4 separate regions of the Homo sapiens genome follow, and regions 1, 3 and 4 are each linked to region 2. The links are contacts of gene promoters, found by promoter capture Hi-C in blood cells and fetal thymus (Javierre and others, 2016). All regions are on one chromosome and are shown on one strand. The core of a region is centred on a gene start or on the middle of the fragment in contact, and the rest is flanking DNA. Distances in the headings are between cores, read along the strand shown. Region 1 overlaps RNF150 (ring finger protein 150). Region 2 holds the start of UCP1 (uncoupling protein 1). Region 3 has its middle 93 kb from the start of TBC1D9. Region 4 overlaps RNF150 (ring finger protein 150).

Evidence for each region. The method cuts DNA at HindIII sites, captures the fragments that hold promoters and counts their contacts. A CHiCAGO score of 5 or more calls a contact.
Region 1: a fragment that was not itself captured here is called in contact with the fragment with the promoter of UCP1 in region 2 in 1 of 17 cell types (endothelial precursors); the score reaches 5.1 in endothelial precursors.
Region 3: a fragment that was not itself captured here is called in contact with the fragment with the promoter of UCP1 in region 2 in 1 of 17 cell types (endothelial precursors); the score reaches 5.0 in endothelial precursors.
Region 4: a contact is called between a fragment that was not itself captured here and the fragment with the promoter of UCP1 in region 2, in 3 of 17 cell types (naive B cells, total B cells and endothelial precursors). The highest score is 5.7, in naive B cells.

The regions. Positions count from the first base shown.
Region 1 is chr4:140,880,289-140,887,172 of GRCh38, forward strand. The region is part of intron 6 of RNF150 (ring finger protein 150); the gene reads right to left. Among named protein-coding and RNA genes, the nearest start is that of TBC1D9, 130 kb to the left of the region's middle. RefSeq lists a silencer at 4,207-4,501. The HindIII fragment of the contact is 727 bases long and covers 3,550-4,276 here.
Region 2 is chr4:140,566,670-140,573,336 of GRCh38, forward strand. It overlaps UCP1 (uncoupling protein 1), which reads right to left and starts at 2,292. Exons shown (of 6, transcript NM_021833.5): 1 at 1,935-2,292; 2 at 1,110-1,308. The coding sequence starts at 2,060. The HindIII fragment of the contact is 4,953 bases long and covers 694-5,646 here.
Region 3 is chr4:140,846,639-140,852,688 of GRCh38, forward strand. No RefSeq gene overlaps it. Among named protein-coding and RNA genes, the nearest start is that of TBC1D9, 93 kb to the left of the region's middle. The HindIII fragment of the contact is 3,436 bases long and covers 2,702-6,050 here.
Region 4 is chr4:140,864,895-140,870,970 of GRCh38, forward strand. RNF150 (ring finger protein 150) reads right to left here. Exons shown (of 7, transcript NM_020724.2): 7 at 1-3,485. The coding sequence ends at 3,367. Among named protein-coding and RNA genes, the nearest start is that of TBC1D9, 110 kb to the left of the region's middle. The HindIII fragment of the contact is 2,081 bases long and covers 1,834-3,914 here.

The sequences.
Region 1 (6,884 bases), core at 2,663-5,162, 320 kb after region 2:
GTATTACACTGACTGATTTTTTTTTGTATACTGAATCATCCTTGCATTCCAGGGATAAATCCCACTTGGTCATGGTATATAATCTTTTAATGTACTGTTTAAATTGATTTCCTCATATTTTGTCAAAGATTTTTGCATCAATATTTATTGGTTATATTGGTCTGTAATTTTCTTTTCTTGTAGTATCTTTGTCTGGATTTGGTATTATGGTAATACAGGCCTCATAAAATAGTTTAGAAGTGTCCCCTCCTCTCCAGTCTTTTTTTTTTTTGGAAGAGTTTGAGAAGAACTGTCATAAATTCTTTTTTAAATGTTTGGGATAATTCTCCAGTAAAGCCATCTGGTCCTGGGTTTTTTTTTGTTTGTTTGTTTGTTTGTTTGTTTTAAACAAAAGGTCTTTTTATTACTGGTTCAATCACCTTACTAGTGATAGGTTGGTTGAAATTTCCTATTTCTTCATGATTCAGTCATAACAGATTGCATTTGTCTAGGAATTTCTACATTTATACATTTCTTCTAGGTTATTCACAGTAGTCTCATAATATTTTTTATTTCTTTGGCATTAGTTGTAATGTCTCCTCTTTAATGTCTAACTATTTATTCAAGTCTTCTCTTTATTTTAATTAGTCTAGCTAAGGATCTGTCAATTTGGTTGATCCTTTCAAAACACAAATTCTAAGTTTGGTTGCTTTATTCCATTGTCTTTCTATTCTCTATTTCATTTATATCTGCTCTAATCTTTATTATTCCCTTGAAATTCTGCTAATTTTGAATTTGGTTTGTTTTCTTTTCTCTAGTTCCTTGAGGTATAAAGTTTGGTTCTTTGAGATCTTTCTTTTTTAATGTAGTCATTTATTGATATAAACTTTCCTTTGTACTTTTTTTTTTTTTTAAGACAAGGTCTAGCTGTATGGCACAGGCTGGAATGCAGTGGCATGATCTTGGCTCACTGCAGCCTCCACCTCCTGGGCTCAAGCCATCCTCACACTTCAGCCTCTCAAGTAGCTGGGACTAGAGGCATACATTATCACATCTGGATAATTTTTGTATTTTTTTGTAGAAATGAGGTTTCACCATTTTGCCCAGGCTGGTCTCAAACTTGTGAGCTCAAGGGATCCATCTGCCTCAGCCTCCCAATCTGCTGGGATTACAAGCATGAGCCACCACACCTGGCCCCTTTGTACTTCTTTTGTTGCCTCCCATAAGTCTTGGTACATTACCTTTTTGTTTTCATTTGTCTCAAGACGTTTTCCAGTTTATCTTGTGATTTCTTCTTTGACCCACTGGTTATACAAGAGAGTGTTGGTTGGGCATGGGGGCTCATGCCTGTAAACTCAGTCCTTTGGGAGGCCAAGGTGGGAGGATTGCTTGAACCCAGGAGTTTGAGACCAGGCTGGGCAACATAATGAGACTATGTCTCTATGAAAAACCAAACAAAGCAAAAGAGCCAAGTGTAGTGACATGTACCTGCAGTCCCAGCTACTCAGGAGGTTGAGGTGGGAGGATATCATGAGCCCAGGAGTTTCAGGCTGCAGTGAGCTATGATCATGTCACTGCATTCTAGGCTGGGTGACAAAGCAAGACTCCATCTCTTTAAAAAAAGAGGATGTTGTTTAATTTCTACATTTTGATGAGCTTTCCAGTTTGCTATTGATTTCTGGTTTCATTTCACTGTGGTTGGAAAAGATATTTCGTATGATTTCAATCTTCTTAATTTTCTTTATTTTTAATTTTTTTATTTTTATTTTTGAGATGGAGTCTTGCTCTGTCGCCCAGGCTGGAGTGCAGTGGTGCAATCTCGGCTCACTGCAAGCTCCACCTCCCAGGTTCACGCCATTCTTCTGCCTCAGCCTCCTGAGTAGCTGGGACTACAGGCACCCGCCACTACGCCCGGCTAATTTTTTGTATTTTTAGTAGAGACGGGGTTTCACCATGTTAGCCAGGATGGTCTCGATCTGCTGACCTCGTGATCCACCCGCCTCGGCCTCCCAGAGTGCTGGGATTACAGGTGTGAGCCACTCAATCTTCTTAAATTTCTTAAGACTTGTTTTGTGGCCTAACATGTGATCTATCCTTGAGAATGTTTCATGTGCATTTGAGAAAAATGTGTATTCTGCTACTGTTGGGTGGAGTGTCCTGTATATGTCTGTTTGATCCAACTGATCTATAGTGTTGCTCTATTCTACTTATGCCTATTGTTCTCAGTCTGGTTTTCTATCTATTTTTGAAAATGGGGTATTGAAATCTCTTACTCTTATTGTGTTACTATTTTCCCTTTAAATTCTGTACATGTTTACTTCATATATTTGGGTGCTCTGTTAGGTAAATATATATTAATAATTGTTATATCTTTCTGAATAATTAACCTTTTAATCATTATATAATGACATTCTTTGTCTCTTGTGACAGTTGTTTACTTAGTCTAATTTTTTCTGATATGAGCACCTCTGTTCTCTCTGGTTACCATTTACATGGAACATCTTTTTTCATCTTTTCCCTTTAGCTCAGGTATGTCCTTAAATCTAAAGTGACTGCCTTGTAGACGGCATATAGTTACCTTTTGTTTTTCATTTATTTAGTCTTTTGATCTGAGAGTTTATTCACAGTTAAAGTAATTACTGATAGGGAAGTACTTATTATTTTCATTTTATCATTTTCTATGTTGTAGTTATCTCTCTTTTTCCCTCTCTTGCTGCCTTCTTGTTAGTTTTGTTCATTTTTTTTTGTAGTGCTATATACTTTGATTTGTTTCTCATTTATCTTTTGTGTACTTTTTTGAGTATTTTCTTTGTGGTTACTATAGAGATGACATAAAACATGTCAGAGTTATAATAATCTATTTTAAGCAGATAATGCCACATATAAAAACTCTACTCTTATATATTCCCTTCTACACTAAGTTACTGATGTTATAAATTATATCTTTAGTATATTTTACATCCATTAAAGTAGTTTTTTTCACCTTTGTCCTTTAAATTCTATACCAGAATTAAAAGTGATTTATGTACCACCATTACAGTATTTATGCACCACCCTATCACAGTATTGTGTATTTGTCTACATATTTACTTTTGCCACTGAGCTTCATGGTGCCGTAAGCTTTTGTGTTACTATCTAATGTTCTTTTGTTTCAACTTAAAGAACTCACTTTAGCATTTCTTGTAAGGCAGGTCTAGTGATGACAAACTCTCTCAGCTTTTGTTAATCTGGGCAAGTCTTTATTTCCCCTTCAGTTTTGAGGACAGTTTTTCAGTATATAGTATTTTTGGTTGACATTTTTTTCCCTTTTTCTCAGTACTTTAAATATATCATCTCACTCTTTTCTAGCCTATAAGGTTTCTGCTAAGAAATCTGCTGATAATCATATGTAAGCTCCCTTGTGTGTGATAAGCTAATTTTTTCTTGCTGCTTTCAAGATTCTATCTCTGTCTTTGACTTTGGACAATTTGATTGTAATGTGTCTCAGTGTAGACCTCTTTAGGTTTACCATATTTAGAGCTCACTGAACTTCTTGAATTTAGATGTTCATATCTTTCCTTAGATTTGGGAAGCTTTCAGCCATTATGCCTTTGAAGAAGCTCTTTGACCCTTTCTCTCTCCCTTTTTCTTTTAGAACTCTCATGATGCACATATTTGTCCACCTGATGGTACAGCATAAGTCCCTTAGGCTTTCTTTATTGTACTTCACTTTTTTTTTTTGCTCTTATGACTTGATAATTTCAAGTGACTTTTCCTCAAGTTCACTGATTCTTCCTTCTGTTTAATCAAGTCTGCTGTTAATCTCCCTCAGTAAAATTTTCAATTCAGTTACTGTAGTCTTCAACTCTTGAATTTCTGTTTGTTTCTTCTTCATAGTTTTTCTTTGTTGATATTCTCATTTTATTCATACATCATTTTCCTAATTATATCCAGCTGTCTATCTGTGCTCTCCTTTAATTCATTGGGCATCTTTAAGATGATTCTTTTGAAACGATTTATCTGATAATTCATATATCTCCATTTTTTAGGGGTAATTTCTGGATATTTAATTTGTTCGTTTGATTGGGCCATATTTTCCTGTTTCTTTGTACTCCTTTTCATGCTTTGTTGGGACTTCAGTATTTGAATTATCTGCCACTTCTCCCAGTCTTTGCAGTCTGGTTTCATACAGGTACAGGTAGTTCGCCAACCAGCCCAGCTAGAGATTCTGGAGATCTCTCAGGCCTTTTCTGAGGATGTGTGCTTTCTGGGTTTTTGTATGTAATCTAATTGCAGAGGTTTGCCAGTTTTACTCAGAAGCTTCCCCAGTGTCTGCATCACTGAAGCCTTTCTGGTGCTTTGTAGCAAGCTGTGGTACTGGAGCTCCCCCTTGTGTTTATGTTTGAGACACGTGCTCAACCAAGTCCTCTTCATCACTTTTGTTTTTTTTGGCCCCCTGACCTGCTGCCTTGTTCCTGTCTGTGCTTAGATTTCGGGAAGACAGAAGCCAGTCCCTTAGGTAACACCCCCTCCAAAAGTCAGAATATTAGACATCCCACTTTACAATCATTTTTCTCTTTCTCTGCTTGAGAAGAACTCTGAGTTGGGAGTTTTCTCCAATGGCACCATGCTATACTAGAGGGGAGGGGCTCTGGTGAATGAGTGGGTTCCATGAATTTTCCTCCTGGGCTTCCAAGCACTTGGCTTTGTCCTTGCCTGGAGTGCAGGAACTTCTTAACTTGTTTCTGTTATTTCTTCCAAAGACAATTGGTCTATACACATTTCTTAAGTCCGTTGGTATCTCCATGGAGGAAGGAGGATCTGGGGCTTTCTATTATGCCATCTTCCTCCTGTCACTTCCAAACAGTTTTTTTCAACATGGCTGTACTGTTTTTCCATCTCTACAAGCAGTGTACAAGAGTTTTAGTTTCTCTACATTTTTTCCAACATCAGTCTTTTTTTTTTTTTTTTTGAGACAGAGGCTTGCTCTGTCGCCCAGGCTGGAGTGCAGTGGTGTGACCTCAGCTCACTGCAACCTCTGCCTCCCAGGTTCAAGCAATTCTCCTGCCTCAGCCTCCCAAGTGGCTGGGATTACAGGTGCGTGCCATCACACCCAGCTAATTTATATATATATTATATATAATATATTATAAAAGAGTACATATATTTTATATATATGTACATATATCTTTTTTTTTTTTTTTTTTGAGACGGAGTTTTGCTCTTGTTGCCCAGGCTGGAGTGCAGTGGTGCGATCTCGGCTCACTGCAACCACTGCCTCCCGGGTTCAAGCGATTTTCCTGCCTCAGTCTCTCGAGTAGCTGGGATTACAGGCATGCACCACTATGCCCGGCTAGTTTTGTATTTTTAGTAGAGACGGGGTTTCTCCATGTTGGTCAGGCTGGTCTTGAACTCCTGACCTCAGGTGATCTGCCCACCTCGGCCTCCCAGGTTCAAGCAATTCTCCTGCCTCAGCCTCCCACATAGCTGGGATTACAGGTGCATACCATCATGCCCAGCCAATTTTTATACTTTTAGTAGAGATGGGATTTTTGCCATGTTGGCCAGGCTGGTCTCAAACTCCTGACCTCAAGGGATCCGCCTGCCTCAGCCTTCCAAAGTGCTGGGATTACAGGCGTAAGCCACAGCACCTAGCTTGAGCTTCTTTTTATATATGTTCTAAGAAGTATGTACATCTCTTTGGGAGGCCGAGATGGGTGGATCACGAGGTCAGGAGATCGAGACCATCCTGGCTAACATAGTGAAACCCTGTCTCTACTGAAAATACAAAAAAATTAGCCGGGCGTGGTGGCAGGCGCCTGTAGTCCCAGCTACTCGGGAGGCTGAGGCAGGAGAATGGTGTGAACCCAGGAGGTGGAGCTTGCAGTGAGCCGGGATAGCGCCACTGCGCTCCAGCCTGGGCAACAGAGGGCGACTCCATCACAAAAAAAAAAAAAAAAAAAAAGAAAAGTATGTACATCTATTTTGGAAAGTGAATGTTCAAGTCAATGTTAGCTTTTACTTATTTGCTTTTACTCCACATTTTTCCAGAATAGAGGAGTGTGCATACAAGTGTGTATGTGGTTGTGTTCAGCTGAGTGGAGTGGGTAGTAGTGAAAAACAGGAAATAAATAAGAAAAGCTGAACTAGGCATCCCACAATGCTCCACTAGTGACATAAGGCAGGTCACCCACATGCTTTGCCCATTTTTAAATTGGGTTGTTTGTCTTCTTACTGAGTTGTATGTTCTGAATGCAAATTCTTTATATGTTCTGAATGCAAATTCTTTGTTAGACATAGGTATTGCAAATATTTTCTCTCAGCTTGAGGCCTGACTTTTCATTTTCTTAAAGATGTCCTTAAAGGAACAAAAGTTTTATTTATTTATTTTTAGACAGTCTCACTCTGTTGACCATACTGGAGTGCAGCAACACAATCTTGGCTTATTGCAGCCTCGACACCCTGGACTCCAGCAATCCCCCTCTACCTCAGCCTCCCTGGTAGCTGGGACTACAGGTGCGTACCACCACAGCTAGCTAATTTTAAAAGTTTTAAATTTTGATAAAGGCCAACATATCAACTTTGTCAATGGTTCGCTTTTTAAGTCCTATCTAAAAAATATTTGCTTATCCTAAAGTTGCTAGCATTTACTCCTATGTTTTCTTCTAGAACTTTTATACTTTTAGCTTTTACATAGAGATCTATGACTCATTTCAAGCTAATGTATGGTGCAAAGTAGGAATTGTTCATTTTCCCCCAAAATTTTTGTAATTAAGTTCTTGAATTAAATTTCCTTATTCTGAAATCCCTAGAGTGATTTCCATTTTCCTGACTGGTGTAACTCAATACAGGCAATGGTATTAGAAAGATAGGTGGTATTCAGATTGCAGAAGGATTTGAATGCCAGGCTAAATTACCACAGCTCT
Region 2 (6,667 bases), core at 1,042-3,541:
AAATCTACAAGGTGGATTTCACTTAATGTATTCATTGTGCCATCAGCACATCTTCTCTCTGGCTTGTCTACTCCACATGAAAGTGCCTCTGATGTTGATTAGCTGTGTGATTTTGTGCATGTTACTTAACTACCCTGATATTCGGCTAACACTTTTTACTCACAGCAGTGTTGTGCGGTTTGAATGATGGGCAGAATCATATGAGAAGTGCAGAAGGCAGTAGAGAACAGGGTTAGGAGCCTGGAGTCCGAGGCCAGACTGCCTGGGTTTGAACCCTGGCTCTGCCCCCTCCCAGCTGTGTGACCTTGGGCAAGTGATGAATCTGCTCTGTGTTCAGTTTTCCCATCTGCCAAGGGATAATGGTACTAATACCCTTCCAGTTATAATGTATCTGAAGCACTTAGAACAATGTCTGGTTCATAGTTAAGCCCTCAAATAAATGCTACCTAAAGTGACAGGAATTCTTAGAGTGCACTGGCACTCAGGAAATATGTTTCCTTTTCTTTTTCCCCTAAACAAACTCCCTGCAGCATTCGTCCACTTTTTCTGCTCTGGTCTTTCCTGGACCTGATGAGGAACCTCTTAAGAGGAAATATGTCTTTTCCTGTCCTTTCAACTCTCTTCACAAAGTCTGGCTTTCTTTGCTTCAAACAGAAGGCTTTGAACTTTGTTGCATACACAAATGATGAGGGAAGCTTGTGGAAAGACACTCTGGTCTCTAGCCTGAGGATTCAGACTCAGAGGACCATGGTAGTCCTCGTTTGGATTTCTGACAAGCTCCATAGATGTTTCTGATATACTTCCCTCTTTGGAGAACTTTAAGTTAAACATTTTTCTGTAGCCCACCCATATTCTCCAGATGGAGATCCAAACTGGGCACAAAACTTCCATGACTGGGTGACCTTTACAAGTATATATCTGCATCTAAAAAATCGATTTTGCATACTTTTTTCTATGAACAATGAGCTAATGTTTGGGGAAGGGAGAGTTCAAATATGAATGTTTTCTCGCCAATTTGTTATGAAAACCACTCCTCTGTGTGTTACACTTTTTGGAACAGAGCGGAGCCCAAGGCTTTTCTGCCCCTCCCAGGAACGCTCACGGCTTACTTTCTTTCCCTGCGGTGAGGAACTCCTGGACCGTGTCGTAGAGGCCGATCCTGAGAGAGGCGGAGCTGATTTGCCGCTGAAGCCCCGCAGGCAGCCCGCTGTAGAGTTTCATCCGCCCTTCTGTTTTTACCACAGCGGTGATTGTTCCCAGGACACCTTTATACCTAATAACACTGGACGTCGGGCATTCACCTTGGACCTGGAAATAAGAAAGGTGCAGAACAGAAGGGAGCGAAATTGAGTTCACTCTTAAGCCAAGATTTCCCCCTGTGTTCCTATTTTCCGTTTCTTTTCTCAGCAACATTCCTCTTCCATCCACCTCCCTCTACCGTGTGTGTGTGTGTGTGTGTGTGTGTGTGTGTGTGTGTGTGTGTGTGTTCGCTCACGCGCAGATGGAGGGAGGCTGGCTACAATGCACATTTTGAATATCCCCCTCCCCAGGAACTCTCCAGAACCCCTAGGGCAGTAGGATAGGACAGAACCCCCGAAGAATCAAAGAAAGGAAAAAGCACCTGACTAGTAAACTCAGGAGAGGCCAATATTCTCAGCTCTTAAAATACTAAGTGCACCCTAAATTTTGGGAGAATTTGGTAGTAGTCATGGTCAACCCATTCTCTGTGGCCCTGGTGGTTCTTCAGCTAATCCCAGAAAAAGTTCCAGTTTCCCATCCTAAAGCACCAGCCCTGGGACAAGGCCAGACTGCTTTGGAAGGTCACCTACCCTACCTAGAAACAGTGGTTACACCAAAGCAGAGAATAAATGGAATGCACGCAACAGCGTCCCCTCTGTCCTGAGACCCCTTGTCTTACCCCTCTGCCTAGCTACCTGGAGCCGGACTTTGGCCGTGTCCAGCGGGAAGGTGATCACGTCCGCCAAGCACGCCGCTATTCCAGCTGAGAAGAGCTGGACCCCCAGGGTCGGGTGTACGTCCGAGGCTGTCAGGCCCCCCATCTTCACTCAGAGACTGGAGATGCAGAGGAAAAGGGCTCCAGCCCCGAAGGTGGAGGAAGTTCCTTTCCCTTGCTCTTCACGCCTGTCCGCCGGGCAGCAAACCCGATTTCTGTTTTTTGAACCGACCGCCGGGCAGCGGCGGTGCAGAGGCGGCGGCTGCAGACGGAGCGCGGTGTTGGGGGCCGAGTCCCCGCGTCCCCTCCTACCCACCCTCGCGCCAGCAGGACCCTCTGCGTTCCGGTCTTCCGCTGGGACTTATATAGCTGGGCCGCTCCCGGGCTGGGCCGCGCGAGGTCTCAGAAGACCCGGGCGTGGGACCTGCCGGGGGCGTGTCCGGGAGCACCGGGTCCCTCCCATTCCCATTCTCGCTCGGTGCCTCGGGAGCCCTGCTTCGCTCCCCGAAAGCCCTGGGCCGGCCGCTGGTTGTCTGCGCCCCGCACACCGCACGTCGGAGGGAGGGCGCACCGCGGCGGTCAGCACCCGCGCCCCCGCACGTGCCTCACCTTCTGTCACCCTTTGGCTGCACACCTTCGGCTGGGGCTTTCGGAAACCAGCACGATATCAGAGCCTTGGTGAAAGGTTCTGCCTAGCTGGAGCTCTCCCAGAAGGAAGAGCGGGGCACTCTTCCATTCCTCCAACTCCCCAGACATCTTGCAGGCACCTTGCGGCCTTCTCTGCTTCCCTTTCCTCTCCTTTAAACTTCTCATCCTCCTTCCTCCGGATTCCTTCTCTTCCCACTACCAAATTCAGACTTGGAAGAATCCCACACAGGAACCAAGAGCACTCTGAACTTGTCAAAAAGAGCGTTTCGTTTCATCACTTTTTGAGAGAAGATGTCAAACGAGACAATAGACACACTAGAAAGCAAATAGTACATTGCTAAAGCACCGTACAAAATGAGATACCACCTGTTCCTTCTAATTAGATTTCTTAGAGGGTGCAGTGGAAAGGACAGGGCAGGTTGCTTGGCTCCAGGTGCAGCTCTCCAGCTTACCAACTCTGTGAACCTGGGAAAGTCATCTGTACTCCAGCTTTTATTTTCAACAGTGTAAAATGTGGTTCCAGAGCTAGCCCAGGTCTGAAATCTCCCTGCTAACTTACCTATAATGATGTAATATGTGTTGGTTGTGTGGCCTTTCCTAGTTCGATCTTTGTGCAAATTTTATTTTCAATGTTTATTCTTGTGAAAACTTAAGAAAACAAAAAACTTTTAAAAAAAACAGTGGGAAATAATAGGAAACTGGAGAAAGAGGGAAATGGACAAGGTCAGGTCCCAGCTTTCAGAACCTCTCAGTTAAGCCAAAGATGGATTTGATATTACCAGAATCCACGTCCAGCTATTTAGGGCCTCTGGTACTCAACCCTGACTTAAGCCCCCCAAAAGAGTCAGTGGAAGTCAGAGTCATCTCCTCCAGGAGCAGGAGAAATAAGACATGAATAAAGAATAATCTCCAAACCCTCTATAAGTAAAGGTTGTGTACTGTGCAAGAAGCCAGTCCTAAGGCACTTCCAAGGGAGGTCAGGCTTGCAGAGCTTCCCTGAAAAAGGCAATGTTGACCTGACGGGTAGCCTCTGAAAAAAAATAGAAAGGAGAAGGAGCCAGCGAGGTTTCTCCTCTGCAAACACTTGTTGAAATAAAGATCAACTGAGGCAAATAAGTGGCATGCATACAGGCAAAGATGTTGGGGAAAGCAAGTCGCGTATATAGAATGCATTCTGTTGGCCTGACTGACTGGGAAATTGGGTGATGGGGAAGAAAGAGAGAGGTAGGGCAAGAAGTTGGTGAGGGATGAGGCTGTAGAAGCCAAATGAGAAGCAGAGCCTGCAAATCCATTATGAGTGTAGCTTCATGTTATCACCTGTGTAGTGCTTTACAGACTATGAAGTGCTCTCACATAAATGTCAGATTTAATTTGATAGACAATACAGCTTTATGAATGATTAGATGTGGAGTCAAAGATTACTCTATGTTTAAGAACATGGGTTGCAAGCTCAGTGACAGTACCAATGATTGTCATGAGGCAGTTGGTAAGGGGGGTGATTTTAGGGGTAAGAAGATTAAACCAATTTTTAAAGTCTTAGAATTATTTGGAGAGAATACTGTTGATATCCAGATAGAGAGCTTAGGAAGCTGCATTTAACATGCTAAAAGAGGAAGAAATAGAGGAGGTATTTGGTAGTCATGATATGGATGCAATGAAAGGGGCATGCTTTTCACGGGAAAATGGGGCTAGTCAAATAGGACTAGGAAAAGAATTCAAGGGCCAAACCATAGGGGGACCCAGACCCAGAGTTATAGTCTGGAAAGAATGGCTTTGTCAAAGGTAGAGTGAGAACAAGAAACAGTAACATATCCAGTGATAGAACTGGTATTTAAGAATATGATTAAAGAAAGATTGGGTCTGACCAGTGTCAAGTTTAGAAAAAATGTCAGGAGGACAAAAACAAAGAAAAACCTACCGGATTTGACTCTAACATTGTTGGTGATCTTAGGGAGTACAACTATGATGGAGTTGTTATGTTGTGAGGCTGATGGCTAAGCAGTGGTTAAGAATGTTGGTATAGTATGACTAAAGTGTACAAGAGGAGACCTTATTCCTTGTTGACTCTAGTGAACCTCTGCTATCAACAGGTTAATTCCCAGTCCTCACCCCAAAGCTACCCATGAATCTTTCTCAGTGGTTCTGTCTGTAGTAGTTTTAAAACATAATTGCAAATCCATCACATTCCTCCCATCAAAAGATGAGGGTACATATGCCTTCCCCTTGCATCTGGCAGGCTTATGAATGTTTTGACCAATAGAATAATACAGAACTGATGCCATGTGGCTTCTGAGACCAGATTATAAAAGTCCTTGTATCTTCTGCTTTACTCACTGCAACATTTGCTCTTGGAGCCCTGGGCCAGCATGTAAGAAAGCAAACTTCTCTGAGGCTGTTCATGCTGGAGAGGCCCCACATCATCATCCCTCTTTACCAAGGCACCAGGCACCAGAGTACAGCTATCTTGGACCCTCCAGATAAGCCTACCTGACAGTTGAATACCACCAAGTGATCTCCTATGATGTCAGTAAAGCAGAAGAATCGCCTAGCTGAGCCCAGTCTAAATTCCTGATCCATAAAATTGTGAGATATAATAAAATAATTATTGTATTAAGGTAGCAAAAGATAACTGTAACAGCACCTTTACTTGTTTGAGCAGTTGGGAGGGGCATGCATTCTCTCTTTGCCCCATCCTACTTTCACAACGAGGAAGGAGTTCAAGGCAGTGGGTGGGTAAAGAGTTTTAGATTTGGACTATAAGAAGAAGCCACAATACATTTGTAAAGAAGAAGCAAGGTAAATTAAAATTGTCTTTTTTTCCCCATAAGGCACATGTTTGCATGTTTTAAAGCCAGAGTATGACAAACTAGAGGAGAAAGTGAGAGGAAAACTATGATAAGGGAAGGAAATGTGAGAAATAAATAAATCTATTAGAAATAAGAAAGGTTGTTATCCAAAACAGGTAAGGATAGGTAGGGAGAGAGGACCTGTGACAGGATAAAGGGGCTGCCTTATTTAAACCTGGAAGGAAGAACGACAGTATAAGCTTCCAGGATATTAATATCAGGCTAACATGGACAGTTAAGAGCCTTTGCCAGGAGATAGTATGACTGTAGTTCAATGGTGACTGAGCACCTGGGATGTGCTAGACACAAGAGTGACTTCTAAGGGTCACAGGAGAAGCTGACGTCAAAAACTTCACACAAGGGGACCCTGAGAGGTCACAGAAGTTCAAGATTCTGAAAGTAGTTCTGGATTCCAAGGAGCAGGCTGGCTTCACCACTTCTGACAGGCTCTGGGAAGTAGGAGAAAGTTTGCCTCAGGTTGGAGAGAGCAGTAGGGGAGAGGGTGGTATCCCCAAAGGGTCAGATTTCTACTCTTCTGGCACAAAGAAGAAGCAGAGAGGTAAAGAATAGGTCAGTATGAGCAAGGGCAACTGACCCTTTATGACGTAGCAAAGGAGTGGCAGCAAGTTCTGAATGTAACAAATTCTCCTTTCCTTTTTGAAAATGTAGAACACATTAACAAATGCACTTGATCAAACTGTGGTCAATCAGAAATCGCTGCACAAAATGTCTTCCTATTAAATAAAAATCATACAGTGCTTTGCATTTGAATAGTGTTCTATACTTTCCCATAATTCTCTCATTAGCCACCACTGGGAAATACCCTGTTATAATTATACAGATAAATGTGCAAATGACAGAAGAATCAATTTCTAAAAGAAGAAATACAAACTTTTATAATGGGAGAGAGGATATATTTATTATCACTAATAAAAAAGCATATACTTCACCTAATAAATTAATACTTTGTCACTACCAAAGTTATAATTACTATAACATTTATATATAATATACATTTACATTAATATTATAAATAGTAATAAATTATGAATGTTATAATTACAAATTATGAATTTTAAAATGTAATAACCATAATATCAATACTATATTAGTGATGGTGTTATACATTGACACAATTTTTTTGGAAAACAATTTGGCAGTATACACTGAGCCAAGAGAAAGTCTATTTTTTTCTTTTCTTTTTCTTTTTTTTTTTGAA
Region 3 (6,050 bases), core at 3,170-5,669, 280 kb after region 2:
ATTTACACTTAAGTATTTATTTTTTTGTTATTGCCACTGGCATTGTATTTTAATTTCAATGTTCATGGGCTCATTGGTAGCATATAGAAATACAATAGAGTTTTTGTATGTTAATCTTATATCTTGTGATCTTGCTAAACTCACTTATTAGTTCTAAGAGGTTTTTGTTTGTTTGTTTTTGGAGAGTCCATGGGCTTTTCTATGTAATCATGTTATCTGCAGATGGGGACAGTTTATTTCTTCCTTTCTGATCTCTATGCTTTTTATTTCCCTTTCCTGATTCATTGCACTGGCTGGAACTTCCAGCATTGTGTGGAGTAAGAGGGATGGGAGCAGACATCCTTGTCATGTTCTAAGTCTTATGAGGAAAGCATTCTGTCTTTCACCATTAAGTATAATGATAGCTGTATGTTCTCTATAGATGCTCTTTATCAGGTTGAGAAAGTCCCCTCTATTCCTATTTTTCTTTCAGGTTTTTTTTTCACTTGTGAGTGGGTATTACATTTTACTAAATTCTTTTTCTGCATTTGTTGATACAATCATGAGATTTTTCTTCTTTAATTTGTTAATATTGTAGATGACATTGGTTAATTTTTAAACATGATGCCAGCTTTGCATCTTTGGAATAAATTCTACTTGGCCATTGTCTTAGTCTATTCAGACTGCTATAATACAATACCTGAGATCAGGTAATTTAGTAGAAATGTATTGTTCATAGTTCCAGGGGCTGGAAAATCCAAGATCAAGGCACTAGCAGATTTGGTGTCTGGTGAGGGCTTGCTCTCTGCTTCCATAGATGGTGCCTTGTTGCATCCTCACATGACAGAAGGGCAAAGCTACTCCCATTAATCTCTTTTATAAGGGCACTGATTCCATTCATGAGGGCTTTGCCTTCATGACTTAATCACCTCTCAAAAGGACCCACCTCTTAATACCACCAAAATAGGGATTAGGGTTCACTATAAATTTTGGAAGGACACATTCATACCATAGCAATCACAGTGTATAATTCTTTTTATATTTTACTAGATTCTATTTGCTAATATTTTGTTAAGGACTTTTGCCTCTATATTCATGAGGAATATTCACCAGTAGGTTTTTTTTTTGTGCTGTCTTTGTCTGGTTTTAATATCAGGGTCATATTCGCTTCAGAAAATAAATTGAGAGTTGCTTGGATTGCTTCTATTTTCTGGAAGAGATTTTGTAGAATTGGTGTTGATTCTTCTTTACTTATTTATTTTTTTAGACACAGTTTCACTCTGTCACCCAGGCTGGAGTGCAGTGGTGGGGCTACTGCTTACTGCAGCCTTGACCTCCTGGATAAAAAATCTTCCCACCTAAGCCTTCTTAGTAGCTGGGACTATAGGCATGCACCTCTACACCTGGCTGAGTTTTGTATTTTTTTTGAAGAGGTGGGGTTTCACCATGTCGCTCAGGCTGGTCTTGAACTCCTGGGCTTAAGCTCAAAGAACCAGCTATTTGTTTCATTGATTTTTTTTCAATCATTTTTCTGTTTCCAATTTCATTTCTTACCTTGAAATGTTTTTTGAGAAGCTCTTCATCTTCACAATTTCATTGATTTTCTAATTTTTTGTAGTTTCATAGTTTTCTTCCTTCTACTTATTTTGCTTTTCTTTTTCTAGGTTTTTGAGGTGGAAGCTTAGATTATTTTTAATTTTAATTTTTGTGGGGAAGCTTAGATTATTGATTTAAGTTTTTTTCTTTTCTATTATGTGTATGTGGTGCTATGAATTTCTGTTGCTTTGAATTCACTGGGCTTTTTGATTCTGTGAATAGTGTTTTTCATTGGTTCTGAAAATCTTCATTGTCTCTTTAAATACTGTCCCTGCCTTATTCTTTTCCTTCTTACCCTCAGAGATACCCATTAAACACTTGTGGTATTCTTTATGTCCCTTACCTTTTTTTCTGTATCAGCAATCTTTTTGTCACTCAGTCCTTCATTGTGAATAGTTGTCCCCCCACTATTTTTCAGTATATTAATTTTTTTCTTCACCTGTGTCTAATCTGCTAATAAACCAATTCATCTACTGAGTTTTAAATTTTGGTATTTTATTACTTTTTTTCTGAAAGTTCCATTTGATCCTTTTCAAAAACTGTTTTATACTTTAAATTGTAAAAATATATGTCAGTTCATAGTTTCTCCTTCCTTTCAGATGTTATTAATTTTTAAACAAAAAATTTAAATATAGTTAATACAGTTAATTTATATAATTCTAAGACTTGAAGTCTTTGTAGTTCTGTTTCTGTGGTCTGTATTCTGCCAGATATTTCTTATGACATCTACTTTCTTTGTGTATCTGGCTATTTTTGGCTTAGTTTTGGACAAATTTTTTGATGCCTAATATGAAATTGGCTTTTTTTTCCCAGAAAGTATTTGTATTTGATTCTGCAAGGTATCTAGAGGCACTACCAGTTTAAGACAACTTTAAACTAAATTTAAGCCTTGAAATTACCTGGAAAATACAGGATACTCAGGAGAGTTTAACTGAGGTTGTGGTTCTGTGCTAGGACTGGTCTATGGGGGGGGGGGTCTTTACAGATTATTTAAGGGGTGAATCTCTTATTAGGCTTTCGATTTTATGTGGTTTCTGGGAGTTGATTTTTTTCTTCCAGTGCCAGGAGGCCACTAAAATGAAAATCCAGTATTTTTAGGGTGGATAACTACTCTCAGAGGAAAAGAAGCTTCTGTCTTCATTTGTGCTTCTGGGATGCTGACTTCTCTTCATGGTAGGTCTGGTATTTCCTTCCTATCTTGTCACTGCTTTGATTCTTTTAAGATACATTGTATATATTCTATCTATATTTATATTTTATCACATTAAATTGTTTTTTAGCTTAAATGACAGAAATGTGTTGTCTCATAGTTCTGGAGGCTAGAAGTTGGAGGAGATTAAGGTGTCAGCAAGGTTGGTTCCTTCTGAGGGTCCTGAAGGAGAATTTGTTCCGTGCCTCTCCCTAGCTTCTGGTGGTTTACTGGCAATATTTGGTGTTCCCTGGCTTATAGAAACAAGCAAACAAAAAAGAGGTTTTTTTTGCCAAAAGAATTTCTCCAAATAACCTGACTCAGCATTTCAGAAAACAGGATGGGCTTTGGTAAGGCAGTGAATGTCAGAGAACCTACACATTCTGGGCAAAGATACCATCTTTTATTGCTTGTCTTTCTGGCTTTACTCCCTCTGAAGTCAGCAGGATTTTTTTTCCCCATTGGAAGTAGTACATTCTGAAATCCAAGTGTTGTTTTTCCTGAGAATGTGTGTGTGGCATGGTCATTCCTTCAATCATTTATTCAACAAATATATGTTGAAAACCTGTGCTAAGCCAGGTCCTATGCTAGGTACTGGGATACATGGAGAATAAAAACATGGATCCTAATCTCAAGTAATTTGCAATCTAGGTTGGAGAATTGGTATTAATCTGACAACCACATAAGCAAACTATCAATACTAAACATTGTTTAATACATGGAGTAGACCTGTCATTAGAGCTATAATGGCCAAGTACAAGGTGCTATGTAAACGTTTAACTGGGATATTTAATCCAGGGGTGAGAGAAGTTTTCTTCAAGGTAAAGCTCTTGAGCTGAGATCCAAAGAATGAATTGGCATTAAATAGAAGGAGGTGAATAGGATAAGACCAATAAGGCTGTGTGGAAAACCTGTGCAAAGGCCCTGTAGTGGATGGTGCTCTGCATGTTAGAAATAGAAGATGTTAAAGCCAGTGGGGCTGGAACACACAGAGTGAGTGGGAAAGTGGTTTAAGATAATTCTGGAGATGTTGTCAGAGGCTAGGTAGAGCAGGACTTAGAAACCAATCAAGAATTCTCTTCTGTACTTGGGCTTATAGAAATGGGAGATCATTAAAATTTTTTATTGGGTCAATGTGTATGTGTGTGTGTGGGTGTGGGTGTGTGTGTGTGTGTGTGTGTGTGTGTGTAGAGGCTGCTCTTGCTCCTGCATTTAGATAAAGAATTAAATGCATGAGCTATCTTGTGAAATGCTATGTGGAATAGGGCATTAGTGGTCAATCAATGAGTATGTAAGTGATACTTCAAGAATATTTCTTTGGCCAGGTGTGATGGACCACACCTGTAATCCCAGTGCTTTGGCAGGCCAAGGTAGGATTGCTTGAGGCCAGGAGTTCAAGACCAGCCTGAACAACAAAGCAAGACCTTATCTCAATTAAAAAATGTATAAGAAGGACATTTCTCCAATATTACCTTTCAGGAACACATATCCTGAAAGTGGGATATGGCATTTCTAGTTTTATCACTTCAAACCTGCTTTTCATTTGAGCATATATGGTTTCAGCAATATCTAGGCCTAAGAGCATTCTGAAGGTCTCTGTTTTCTGGTATGGTCCAATATACCTTCTTTCTTCTCTGAAACATCCTCTACCCCCAACCACATTAGTTGGTGTTGTCTAATCTTCCTTTCTAACTGGAGAAGATTTGTGAAAGGTTTTTCTTCCTCAAAGTTACCCCTACAAACGCTAATCAAAGTAGAATCCAAAAAACTCTGTTCCCTAACGCCAGGGCATCTTTTCCATTTGATGGTCAACAGAGCCCCCTACTGGGAGAAACAGCTCAACTACATAAATACCAACACAAACAGCAAGCGTTCTGTAACGTTTGGTTCTTTACCCAGCCAATGTTTAATGTAATTACTGTGCCGTAGCTGAGACACCTACTCATTATTTTTGTGATAACTCTGACATATAATTACAAAAGATTAACTTTTCATTTGGCAAATTTTCCAGTTACTCAGTGTTGAAGAGTCATTGTAACAATTAATAAAAATCACAAATGTATAGTCTTAAAATATAATTGATGTCAAGAAATAATTTGGTTCAGTGTTATGTTTCAAGAAGACTAACATTTAAATTCTTCAGGGTACTGAGCTTTCTGTTTTATTCCTAAAATTTCCAACGGAGGACACTCCACAGTGTCATCAGAGATGAATTCTTTGCTTCTAATAATTCAATAGGTTGTTATATTTGATAATAGTATCTCCTTAAAAAAAAAACTCCTGTTAGAATGGTTCTAAATTTACAGAAAACTTACAAAGACAGTACAGAGAGTTCCTGTATTTCCATCACTCAGTTTTTCCTGTTGCTAACACCTGGCATTACCATGGTACATTTGTCATAACTAAGGAATCAACATTGGTACATTACCATTAACTAAACTCCAGAGTTTACTCAGATTTCACTATCATTGTAACTTTTCCCCTAATGTCCTTTTTCTGTTCCAGGATTTCATTGAGGACATCACATTACATTTAATTACCTTGTCTCATTGGGATCCTCTGGTCTCTGACAGTTTCTGTGACTTGCCTTGTTTTTGATGACCTTAGCAGTTTTTGAGGAATACTGGTCATGTATTTTGTAGAATGTTCCTCGGTGTGGAGTTGTCTGGTGTTTTTATCATGGTTCTACCAGGATTGTGTTATGGGTTTTTGGGAGGAAAACCCCAGTAACATTCTCATCACATCATATCAAGGCTACATACTTATGTATGCATCATTGTTGATGTTAATTTTGACAACCTGACTGAGATAGTGTTTATTATATTTCTCTACTGCAAAGGTGCTTTGTCGTTGTTGTTGTGGTTGTTTTTTGGAGTCTTGCTCTGGACTCAGCCTAGAGTGCAGTGGTGTGATCATGGCTCCCTGGATCCTCAAACTCTTGGGCTAAAGCGATCCTCCTGAGTAGCTGGGACTGCAGGTGCGTGCCACCACACCAGCTAATTTATTTTATTATTATTATTATTATTATTATTATTATTATTATTATTATTATTATTTTGTAGAGACAGGGTCTCGCTATGTTGCTTAGGCTGGTCTCAAACTCCTGGCTGCAAGCAATCCTCCTCTCTGGGCTTCCCAAAGTGCAGGTATTACAGGCATGAGCCACCACACCAGACTTGTTTTTTTAAATTTAAATTTAAATATCTTTCATCTTATTTTACAGAGATAAAGACAGAAACCTGTCAGCTTCTTTTTTCAGATGAGGGAGGATAATATATCATGGTGG
Region 4 (6,076 bases), core at 1,624-4,123, 300 kb after region 2:
TTTAAAAAGGGTGCCTGAATCTTTATTCACTACAAAATAAATGGACCTCTGGGCCTCTCATTAGGCGACTTGGGTGGTGTCCAGTTCTCCCTGGAGGTAATTAAGCTTTTAACCTTCTTTTCTTTTGTAAGGGTCGGGGGATCTTGTGAGAATACTGGAGGAACTCTAGACCTGCATTGTCCAATTGGCAGCCACTAGCCACATGTGACTATCCAAATTGAGAGGTGCTGTGAGTGTAAAAGACACAATGGATTTAGAAGACTTAGTACACAAAAGCATGTAAAACATGTCATTAATTTACATTAGTGACATGTTGAAACAATATTAGGTTAAAGTACATGATTAAAATTATCTTTACCTGTTTCTTTTTACACTTTAAAATGTGGCTAGTAGAAAATTTAAAATTATGTCTGTGACTTGCATTACGTTTCTGTTGGACAGTGCTAGTCTAGACTCTTGCTATAGAAAAATGCACATCTGCAAATACACATACAGTCTGCATTTGCTTCTAGAGGGTACACACACCCTCTGACACTCATCTGTAGACTACCAGGTCTCCAGGTCAGTCTCTTCTTTGGGGGAGGTAAAGAAGGCTATAAGGAAGGGCTGTTCCCCTTTCTTCTGAAAGAGAAACTTTCTGGTTAAGCTTTTTTTTTTTCTTTTTTTTTTTTTTTTTAAACTATCAAAGCTACAGGAAAATCCTCCAGAAACAAACTTTGGTAAGTAGTGAATGGCAAAGGCTCAGGGGGTTTGCAGCAGGACCTCCTTGGGGTCAGATCTGCCAGCCTCGGGTTGGCCTTTCAGACCCCTCATCGTCTATGAGGCATCCTGTAAGTGCAGCTGTGGCCAGGGCTTGCATATGCAATCAATTCCTGATTCACCTAGTTCTTGGCAGGAAGAGAAAATACTCGTTAATCAGAGGACTAAACAATCCAAAGCGCATTCTCTCTCTGGGAATGGAATATAATTTATATTTCTGTTGCTATTGAATTATCCTTCTAATTCCACTGGACTAAACTTAATACCAGTAATACTAAAATTTGTTTTGGGCAAAGCCGACTGAAGGAGGAGTCAGTGGCGCAAGCCTATGCTGACTGTGAAAAATAAACACCTCTGAGATCAAGAATCCCACAGTGAGAGCTAGGATTTGAAGGTATCCAGAGATTGCAAACTCTGTGACTAACAGCAATTTTTAAACAAGGCAAAACAAACCAACTCCTACTTGGACTTAAAACTTCAATCATTTAGATTTTCATTCTCAGCACCATAGTTGTGCCAAGTCTCAAAGGCTGTTATTACATGATACATGTCAAGTAACTCTACCTCCCCAAGCTACGAAGCCTGATTGCCACAAGTCATAGCTATCTGCAAAAATGGATCCTGCCTCTGAAAGACTCATCTGTGGTCCCACAGCCAGAGGAGCTTGGGGACTCATGTTATTAAACCCTTCACATTATAGATGAAGAAGCCGAGGCTTAGTAAAGCGTGTGGTTCATCTAGGATTCTCGATTCAGAGCTCTCTTCATTCCTCCCTGCCTCTTTTCCCACACATAGAGAGTGGATTTCATTACAGGAAGCATTGGACTCCTAGGGAGATGCAACCTTTCTGAGGGTAATAATCATCTGCCTTGCCTTACTGTCTACTTACAAACCATCAAATAGGAAATTGGTAAAGGTGGTGAAAAAGGAGCAGCTAGTATTCTCCGTTGACCTGCACACCATGTTTCAGCAGGCGGCAAGGATTTACAGCAGAACCAAACTCTTTTTGAATGAGTATTAGTCTAATGAGGTGGAAAAGTCCCCATCAATACATAAAAACAACTCAGTGAGAAAAGCTTTCTTTCCTGGTTAATCCAAGCCGCAGCCTGGTGTTTGCCAGCTGTGTAGAGATAAGGTGATCCGTCTGATTGTTCAGAGACGCTATCAATGACCTTAGTCATCTCTGTATCTGGATAGTCTGAATATATTACAAAATTGCCCACTGAAAAAATAGCACATTTCTGTCATAGTTACAAAAGATGAATAAAAACAGAAACAGTTTAAAAACACCATTGGGTTTCAGTATTTACTTGATACCTCTTTTCCTTTCCCTCTTACTTTGTCTATTTCAGTCAGGATAAACGATCTAGCAAATTCTCATGCTGCATACTTTTTGGTTCAAATGATACAGCAAATCACACCTCATTCCTCACTTGGTATCTGGACACACTCAGGGAGCCCTGGGAAGCAATCTGCTAGGGATTCACCTAAATCCTCCCACATGGTCTGGTGAGATTCAACAGAAGTGTGTCGAAATTAAGGTAAAAGCTAGGTGCTACTGCAGCCCCCACTATGTTTGCCATTGGACTTAAAAATGATTGGCTTTTCTCTAAAGCCTCCATTTTTTACAGAACCCACTTACAGAGGTAAGAAAAAAACTGTTCTAGCCCAGGGGAAACCAATGCAACTGGCATTTTGTTTTCAATAGGAAGAAAATGTGGTATCTGGTTTTAAAACCAGCCCTACAACCACCAAAGACTGGATGCCTTGGAGGGGACTTCTGAGTTCAGAATTTCAGCCAAAGACTGTAAGACCCAGAAGAATGAAACGGCTTCCCTAGAGCTCCCTTCTCATGTCACGTGGGCCCTTAATCAAGCCCGGCAAGTGGAAGCAAGTGTGATGTGGCTTAAAATAACCAGCAGTGGCCTCAGCAGATTTAGGGCTTAGTGTTGGGGTCTCTGGCAGCTGGGGTTTTTAAAGGCCCACTTAGAAGAACTTAGATTCTTAATGAAAGCTGGCCTTAGTCCATTTCAGGGTGCTGAGGCACTTCTCAAAGCCATGCACACTTCATGCTGGGAGGTCAAGACCACATATCTCAGAGATGGAATACAAACTGATCATAGCAGGAACTGGTGCTTCTAAACAGAAACCTATACAAAAGCTGGAGTGCATCAAAGGAAAAACAAAGGAATAGATGGAAAGTAAACTACAAATAATCTTTAAAAAAATTGCCAAAGAAATCAAACAACATGCCAAAAACAAGAATGATGAGACATGGAAAGAATTGAAATGAAACTAAGAAATCCTAAAGGTGGCCTTTCAGTCTCTGTTTTAGGAGCTTCTGAAGTGTATGTCTACATGGACATAGGAGTGGAAATCAGCTTTCAACTTCCCAGCTGCCAAGGCCACAGACTGCCATACCGATGGAGAAACTGCATCCTGATTGACAAGACTTTGGATATTGCTTTTCGTCAGCATTCTTGAACGGAGCGCCCTGGAGTTGCCAAGGTGATCTGGAGGTGTGTGTGTGCCTGGTCCAAGTCTTGGAGCACTCTTCCCTTCCTTTCCCTTGGGTCCTACTATCTCTTTGCTTCTGGATTTGTCGTTTCAAGATTTCACTTCTTCACAGTCCTGGTCAGTGGAAAGTTCTACATCAGACAGTCCAACCTCCATTGCCATGATCAAGGAAATGTCAGAATCACTGCTTACAGCTGGCTCCTGCTCACCTGGGAGGAGAAAGCAAAGTTCACAGTGAACACCGAGCTATGTCTTTGCATGCTGCTTATTTCAGTACAATTGCTTGTAATAACATTTCTTTAAAGGCCAAGAGAAGGTATTAGAAAAATTGGGTATTCTGTAAAAACTCTAGTTAAAGCCTCATCTCACATGGGCCAAAAAGTTAAATGCAAACAAAAGAAACTAGAATAATAAAATATATCATCTAAGGATATGTCTTAGTAGGAAAATATATATCTACCGTAAGTTGGGCAAGAAATTCTATTTAGAAAAGTAATTGGGTAATTTACAGAAGAAAAGATTGTTACATATGCGTAACATTTAAAATGTTACACACATGTAAAATAAAATCAAAAGGCATATCAAACTCAGGAATTTGCAAAAAATTTCACAAAGGTTTCTATTCTTAACATATAGAAAGCTTTTAAATCAATAAGAAAAACAGTTCAATAGAAAAATGGACAAAGGTTACCATTACACAATTCACGGAAGAGTGTAATATAAATGACCAATAAATATAAGGTAAAAATAAGATATCCTTTTTTGTCTATGTAATCTTCACTCTTTAAAAAAGACAAGATAATATTACAGTTAAGGGTACACTGAGGTAGGTAGGTACATGATACATTGCATATAGAACTGTAAAATTTTCACTCAGTAATTTCATTTCCAGGATGTATTATAGAGAAATAACTGGAGATGCAAAACTATTCAATTAAGCATGATTTACAGTAGCAAAACATTGCAAGTAACTTAAAGTCCAACAATAGAGAACATCTGAATAAACCTATTACTTCTAAAGGACAATGTTGTTATAACCATTAAAATGATGTTTTCAAAGAATTTGTAGTTACATGAGAAGACGTTCACAGTATACTGTTAAGTGAAAACAGAAATATTTAAAGCTTTGTATGCAATGGGGTCAACAGAGAAAGTTAAATGGAAGCAAAGAAACCAAAAATGCTAACGAGAGTCATCTCTAGTGTTGGGATTTATATTCATTTTCTGTTAACATTTTTTTTCAGTTCTCCCAAATACTCTTCAATGAACATACATCACTTACTCATTCAAGACATTATCTACCGTGTCCCTACTGCACACTAAGGATTATGCTAGAGGCTATGGATATAGGGGAGATTAAGACAATCCCTATCCTGAAGGAGCTCATTGTCTGGTGGGCAGGTTGACCATTTACTAGGCAATTACAACACAGTGAGATAAGCACCAGGATGGAAGATGTACCAGGTATTACAGGAGCAGGTAAGAGGGCTATGTAACCATATACTGGGTGCAATGTCTAAACTGAGTCCTAAAGGATAATCTGTATTATAGCCAGATGAATAAGAAGAAATAATCCTTTAAGCAACAGCATGTACAGGTGGCTGGAGGTGATAGGGAGCTGTGGGCAGGCAGATATCAGAGGGTTTTTAATTTGACTGGAATGCAGAGTCAAGCTGGGGAATATGGACAGAGGAGGCCAGAGAGCTGAGCTGCATAAAGGCAGCTTTCAACCCAAAAGGTCTTGTACTTTCTCTTACTTTGCAGAAGAAATATGCAATTAAAAAAACCAACAAAAATGTATAAGTACTAAAGAATAATAATGGTTATAATACTTTTGTTCTGATAATCGCTAATGTAATTTTTTCATGATGTGGCACAGTTAAGAAAAATACCTGAGTTTCATGAAGGACAGTGAATTCCTAAGATGTTTTCAAGGAGACAAATAAGAGAACAAACAAAGAATTATGGCCTGAAAAATCAGTTTTATAGAAATGGGGTATTTCACAGGGAAATATCCAACCTGAAGACTTAGCTCTTATCCGTTTCCTAGATCCACAATTGCAGGAAGTTCATAGCAATGTAACAGATCAATGGTTAAATGAAAACCCTGGAAGCAGCTCTATAAAGATACAAGTCTTTGGTATTTAAAAACAGTGGCATTCAACAAATAGTCAAGAAAACTAGTCATTTAGAAAAAAGTGAAACTGGATCTGTGCCTCACACTTCACTACAAAATACATTCTAAGCTTGCTATATATGATCTCCCATCTTCATTTTGTGCGTGTATGTGTGTGTGTGTGTGTGTGTGTGTGTGCACTTCCTTTTCATTTATCTTCTCCAGAGCCACCTGGTGCCTTTGATCCCTGACCTTCGGGAAATTCTCAAGTGCAAATTACGGTGGTTCTCCCTTTCCCCATGCCTGATTTGTGCTTGTTTTCTCAGCAGGGTCGTGGCGTGCTGTTGTGCAGGGTGTGTACAGCACCACTCCACAGCACAGCTTCACTCTGGAGTCTGAGTGAGCAGTGGCTCCTGAAGTGGGGCAGGACACAACCCACACAGCCAGATGCAGGGGCTTGCTGTGTCTCTAGTCTACTAAGTCATGGACCATTCATCTGTTTTTTGCAGTTGCCTAAATTTTGTTATTGTCTCTTCTTGCATTTTCCCTGTCCATGTCGTGCTCTGTCTTTAAAAAAAAAATCCCTTCACTGTGGTTTTTGTGGAATTTCAGGAGAGACTGGGAGTGGCTTCATATGGCAGGTCCACTCTTTTTACTCAGTGCTCTCCTTAAACATCATTTTTA